2 separate regions of the Homo sapiens genome follow, and region 1 is linked to region 2. Evidence: promoter capture Hi-C in human tissues and cell types (Jung and others, 2019). All regions are on one chromosome and are shown on one strand. Each heading gives the region's core, a stretch centred on a gene start or on the middle of the fragment in contact. The rest is flanking DNA. Distances are from core to core; before and after follow the strand shown. Region 1 overlaps EP400 (E1A binding protein p400). Region 2 holds the start of MMP17 (matrix metallopeptidase 17).

Region 1 (2,700 bases), core at 5-2,504, 250 kb before region 2:
AGTCACACAACAGTATGACCTCTGGTTTCCAATTAAACACAAGTGGAAAATTAAAAGATGGTTGCTTTTAGACTAACACCAGATGCCTCTTGGGAAAAGGGTGAGAGCTGGGTCAGGGACTGATTTTGTTGTTGTAGTAAAGCTTTTAATAGAGTTTGGTTTCTTGAAATCTATATGCCAGTGTGACTTTAAACAAAATTTAGAAAGTTTAAAGCACCGCTTTACATTTAAAGCACTGTGCTAAAGAGTCATATTGTGGAGCATCAGTGACAACAGTGAAAGCGCCTGAAGGGCTTCTGTGGGAGGCAAGGCCACTGTGCCCACAGCGCCTCTGCTCAAGGGCGGGCCCCGAGCGGAGCCTGCTTGCCTGAGGCCTGTGCCTCCCTAAAACCACAGGGCAGTGTCTGCGACTTGCAGGACACACCCGCGATGATCAGTGAATGAAGGGTCCTGGGAATGAGCCCAAGGTGAGGCTCCCTCAGTATGGCTGACACAACCTCTAAACGCTTGTTCACTCTTCTCATTATTAAGTGTATCTAGTTTTTCCCCTGAAGTTAATGTTTTTGTGTGTATCACAAAAATCAAAAGTGATTCCCTAATCATGACCTCAGATGAAAACAACCCATTCTCTGACCTGGGAAATGTGAGGTTTCCACTTTGTCTATGCGTCCTACCTGCTGGGAAGCAGAGGCAACTTGCTGGATGCTGGCCACGGGTGTTTGCTGTTGAACAACTTGAGGAAGTTTTGCAACCTTTGACAAAACAAAAAAAGCCAAACATACAATTCAAAGGAGTATGTGCACAAAAAGAGATTTTTCCTCCCTTTCTGTCCTCAGTTAATGCAAAAAACACAATGACCAGGTGACACAGAAGAGCAATTCTCGTAGTGTGCCCACCTGCAGCAGTGAGAGAGCAAGTCGTTCCACTGCATGGTGAGTCAACTGACTGCCTCCCCAATTTGCCATCACTCATCATTTAAGCTTATTTTTGGTCTCATATTTCAGACACATTTTTTCTTTTCACAAAAACGACTGCAAGTTTATATGAAAGAATCAGACTGAGGATGGTAAGTATTTGAGCGTCTTGTGAGTCCCAAGGGCTCTGCATATGACAGGCCTGGACGACGTTCCAGTAATGAGCTGTACAGTGCAGCTAGGGCAGCCAGCTGAAGTGGGGAACCCGGTGACGCACCAAGGTTTTGAGGCTGGTAATTTTATCATTTTTCTACATTCTTCTTAGTCATGATTGAGATCTGGCTATTTATAAAGCAACACTTTCCACCCAGTGCCCACTTTCTGTGCACTTGCTACTGCATGCATCTCCCGCTGTCTTGACGTAGTAAGAGGCTCTGGGCCACCTGTGTGTCCTATCAGCACCGTCATGGCGTGCACCCAGAACACAAGAGAGGCTCCAGCGTGGGCAGCTGCTGGGGGCCCTGATTTCAAGGGCCCTCCCTGCACAAGGCCCTCACGGACCCTGGTCTCTTGCTGGGTCCTGTTACTTACAGAAAACGGATGAAAATAATATTTCCCAAGATTATTCTGCGAAATATGTGAAATTACATGATTTACTCACACATGAACAAAGGTCGAAATAAATGTTAGTCCTTACTAAAATTAAAATCAATCAGAAGGCATTTACTAGTTTACTGTCACTTAAACAATTATAAATAAAATTCACTAAGATAAGTGCCCTGAGCGCCCCCTGTGGAACTGCTGGGAAACAAAGATGCAGCCGGTGCTCCAGGGCCCATCTCAAGACCACAATGGTCCAGGACTTACTTGGCACAGCACTGAAAATCCTGAGACGTCTTAAATAAAGCACTAGCAAGAAATCTTAAATGTACCAAGAAACCTGCAAAGAGTCAGGAACTGCCAGTCTCCAAACCTAAGCACAGGCGGGCATCACGAGTCACGGAGCAGAAAAGCTGCACAACCTCTGCCCGGGATCGCTGGCCACATGGAGACGCACCCCGTGATCTCCAGGGTCGCACAGGACACAGCTGACCAGACACCAGGTATAGGCCAGTTCTCGGTGGGGAGCTTGCAAAAGAGCCCCGTGCTACTGCCAGCTGCCATCCTGGAGGGAGACACTGTACCCACAAAGGTACCCAAAGGCTGCAAAGAAAGCATCCCCTTCCTCCAGTGGCATCTGTAAGAAAAGCACCTGCCCTAAGCCTCAGTGCCGGGGAGGAGAGAGGAGGAGACACAGATTCAGAGGCCAGGTGGGTAACACCTGAGAGCTGAGTGAAAGCCTGAGCCACACACCAAGCAGTGTTCCTGTGGCACCTGAAGGTGCCCGCGGAAGCAAAACTCCACCTTTGCCCCAGGCTGCGAGGGGTCCCCGCAGATGCAGCACATTTCAGACAGGGAAATCACCAGATCCAGAAAAACACCTCACTCACTCTGCGAGGCCTGGAAACAAGAGACTATAAACAAAGACCAGGCATTATTTGGGAACTTCTGAAAATAAAATAATAAATCATCAAGATAAAAATTCAACAGACAAGCTTTGAAGCAGATTTGACTTAACCAAGGGAAAAATGAGTGACTGAGGAGACAGAGCGAAAGACATGACTCAGAATATAGTACGACGAGACAAAGACACAGAAAATACAAAAGCTGCTGAGAGACCTGGAGGGCAGAGGAAGCAGGACAGGGGCAACACGTAAACAAACAGTGGCTGCTTATTTCCTAAAGA
Region 2 (3,064 bases), core at 161-2,660:
CCAGACCCCCTGGCCAAGTCCTGCCAACCACAGGGGCTGCGGGTGCCACCCAAGTGGCCCCTCCATATGCCTCGACTGCCTGAAATACACCTGCGCTGACTTGCTTGGACCCCAAGGTTTTGGAGCTCCTGAATGTCCACTGCGCTGGGCGAGGGGCCCTGCCAGGACCCCACTGGGAGACTGTCCGCGGACGAGGGCCAGGCCGAGTACTTGTGTGGGGCGGGGAGGCCTCGGCTCCTGGCCCGACTCCCTGGGTAGGAGTCCATTGAAGGCAGCGGTGGGGCAGGAGCCTCAGAAGGAACCAACGAACCCAGCGGGAGTTCACCCGGCCGCCCCAGCGGGGGGGCGCTGACCCCACGACGTGTGCTCTAAATCTTCCGGGTCCACAGGAGACGCGAGTCCCGGCTGCGGAACAGGGGAGGGGGCTGTAGGAAGAGGCCACGTCGCTGCCCCCAGGCAGGGTTTCTAAGCTGAGCTGGGGACAGCTACTGGGTGTGGAGTGAGGAAGGCTCTCCCCGCGCCCCCGGCTCAGCACTGTACCAGGGCAAGGCAGGGCCAGCCTGGCCGACCTGGGGTGGAGGGGAAGGAGGCTGAGGGCCAGGTCCTTGTCCAGTGGGGAGCTGGGGGCCAGCATCCCTGTGCCCCCAACACCCTCAACCGAGCAAACTCGGGGGCTCAAGGCTTTCGGGGTGCCCCCACTCCGTAGCCCCTGCCCTTCCTCGCTTTGTGGGTGCGTGCTCCTGCCCCCGCCACTCCCACCCGGAACGCACGCAGCGCGCAGAGCTCGGGGCGGCCGCGATGCCTGCTCTCGCCCAGCCCGGCTGCTCCGGGGCTGCTGCAAGCCGGCGACCCGGGCTCCGGGTGGGCGACCCCCTCACAACTCCACGGGCTCCTGCGGCTGCGGCGCGCTCCCAGCGCACGGAGCCGGGACGGCAGCCGGCGCCTCCCCAGGACTCGCGTGCGCTCGCCCGGTCGCTCAGCCCGCGTCCCTGCCTCAGTCTCCCCACCCAGGAAATGGGTCCAGGGCGCCAGGGCTCCCGCGCGACGCCGACGTGCACTGCTGGGGTCTTCCCGGTCCCCGCCACCCGGCCCGCGGAGACCCCCGGCTCCGGCCCAGGAGCTCCGCGCCCGTCCCGCCCGCGCGCTCACCACTCCCAGGCTGAGGTCCTCGGCGCGCGGCGCGGGTGCGGGCGCGGCGCAGCCCCCGCGGGTCCCCAGCGCCAGCAGCAGCAGCAGCGGCAGCGGCAGCCGCGAGAGTCCGGGCCCTGGGGGCGGCGGGCCGGGTCCCCGGGCTGCGCGGCGCCGCATGGCGCTCACATGGGCCCGCGGGCGGCGTGCAGGGTCCCGCGCCCTCCGCTTCGCGTTCCGCAGCCCGGCGCCCTCCGCTCTCCGCGGCGCCCCCGCCGGACTGAGCCCCGCGCGGCAGCCTCAAGCGGCGGGGCGGGGCCATGCAAATGTATGCTAACGAGGCCGGCCGCCTTAAAGGGCCCGCGCCGCCTCGGACGCTGCCACCCCCGCCCGCCCCGCCGTGTCCGCGACGGGACTGGGTCCGCGGCATCACAGGGAAGGCGTTTCCCCGGGTGTCTTAGGACGCTCTTGGGGCGGCGGGGACGCGCGGGATGGGCGCGGAGGCGGGGGTCGGGGCGCCTGCGGGGAGCTGACCCTGACTCCCCTCTCCGGCCGCGCTCCCGGGTCCACCCCCCACGGCGCCGAGGCCCGGGTTCAGACCCGGGTTCAGGCCCCGGAGCCGCCGCCGCAGCGCAGCAGGTGGGCGCTTGGTGGAGCCCGCGGACCGCGGGAGAGGGAGGGTGGGGCTTGGGGGGCGCGGGGGACTGGAGGGCGAGGGCGGGTGTTGGGGGGGCTGGGGTCCTCGGCGGAGGCTCTGCGGTCCCTGCGGGCCTGGGAGCGAGAATGTTAACTTGTAATGTTTGTTGGAGCGCAGCGTGTGCCTGGCACATGCCCAGGAGTTACATAAATAATTTCATTTACTTACAACATTTATGAGATGAAAACTATGATTTCCATTTCGCAGACAAAGAAACTGAGGCCCAAAGAAATGAAGTAACTTATGGGAGGTCCTGGAGCGGGCAAGCGGCAGAGCCAGGGTCAGAGCCCGAGCAGGCGCTTGTGTGGATTGAACTCGTGCAAGTTGCGTACAGGCTGCCCACCGAGTGGGAGATCTTGGGAGAGGGCAGGGGGTGAGGTTCAAGGGTAACCCTTGCCTTTATTCAGCTTCTCCTCGTGCTGGACAGCATGGCTTCCCCTCCTTCCCAGGCCCTCCTGCTCCACCACCCCAAATCGCAGCTGGTACTGTCAGGACTGAGGTCTCATTCTACGGACAGGGAAACTGAGGCTCGGCCCCTTTTACCAGAACTGGTCTCAGGGAAGTGGTGCCCCTCCCCTCCTGTGAGGGCCGACTCCCCCCAACCACCCCCCCCCCCCCCCCCCCGCTTCCCTGGGTACTCTGGCCCATCCTGTCCCTGCTGCCCTCAGAGCCTCCCTGGCCCGGTCTGAACAGGGTGATTCCACACCTGCTTCAGATGACCTTGGTTCGGACTGATGGGATCACCTGTAGGAGGTGGGGACTTTCACAGGACATCCCGGATTGTTTTTTCTTTCTTTCTTTTTTTTTTTTTTGCTCTGTTGCCCAGGCTGGAGTGCAGTGGCACGATCTTGGCTCACTGTAATTTCTGCTTCCTAAATTCAAATGATTCTCCTGTCTCAGCCTCCTGAGTAGATGGGATTTCAAGCGTGCACAACCGTGCCCAGCTAATTTTTGTATTTTTAGTAGAGACGGGGTTTCACCATGTTGGCCAGGCTGGTCTTGAACTCCTGACTTCAGGTGATCAGCCCGCCTTGGCCTCCCAAAGTGCTGGGATTACAGGCGTGAGCCACCGCACCTGGCCTCATCCGGGATTTTGACCAAGTGCATCAGGACAACCTGGTTTCCAGAGCAGAGACCCAGCCAAAGCGGCTGTAGTCAAGGAAAGGAAGCGTATGGGTATGGGCTCAGGAAACGGTGGCGTCCTAGCGTGTGCCAAAGTCAGGCAGGGCTGGACCAAGT

What was found. The method cuts DNA at HindIII sites, captures the fragments that hold promoters and counts their contacts. A contact is called where the count stands out against the background at its distance.
Region 1: a contact is called between a fragment that was not itself captured here and the fragment with the promoter of MMP17 in region 2, in 4 of the 25 tissues and cell types used here (dorsolateral prefrontal cortex, pancreas, spleen and 1 more).

The regions. Positions count from the first base shown.
Region 1 is chr12:132,074,568-132,077,267 of GRCh38, reverse strand. EP400 (E1A binding protein p400) reads right to left here. Exons shown (of 53, transcript NM_015409.5): 52 at 675-752. Among named protein-coding and RNA genes, the nearest start is that of SNORA49, 45 kb to the right of the region's middle. The HindIII fragment of the contact is 6,004 bases long and covers 1-2,700 here.
Region 2 is chr12:131,826,739-131,829,802 of GRCh38, reverse strand. It overlaps MMP17 (matrix metallopeptidase 17), which reads right to left and starts at 1,410. Exons shown (of 10, transcript NM_016155.7): 1 at 1,150-1,410. The coding sequence starts at 1,308. RefSeq lists a silencer at 1,416-1,545. The HindIII fragment of the contact is 32,715 bases long and covers 1-3,064 here.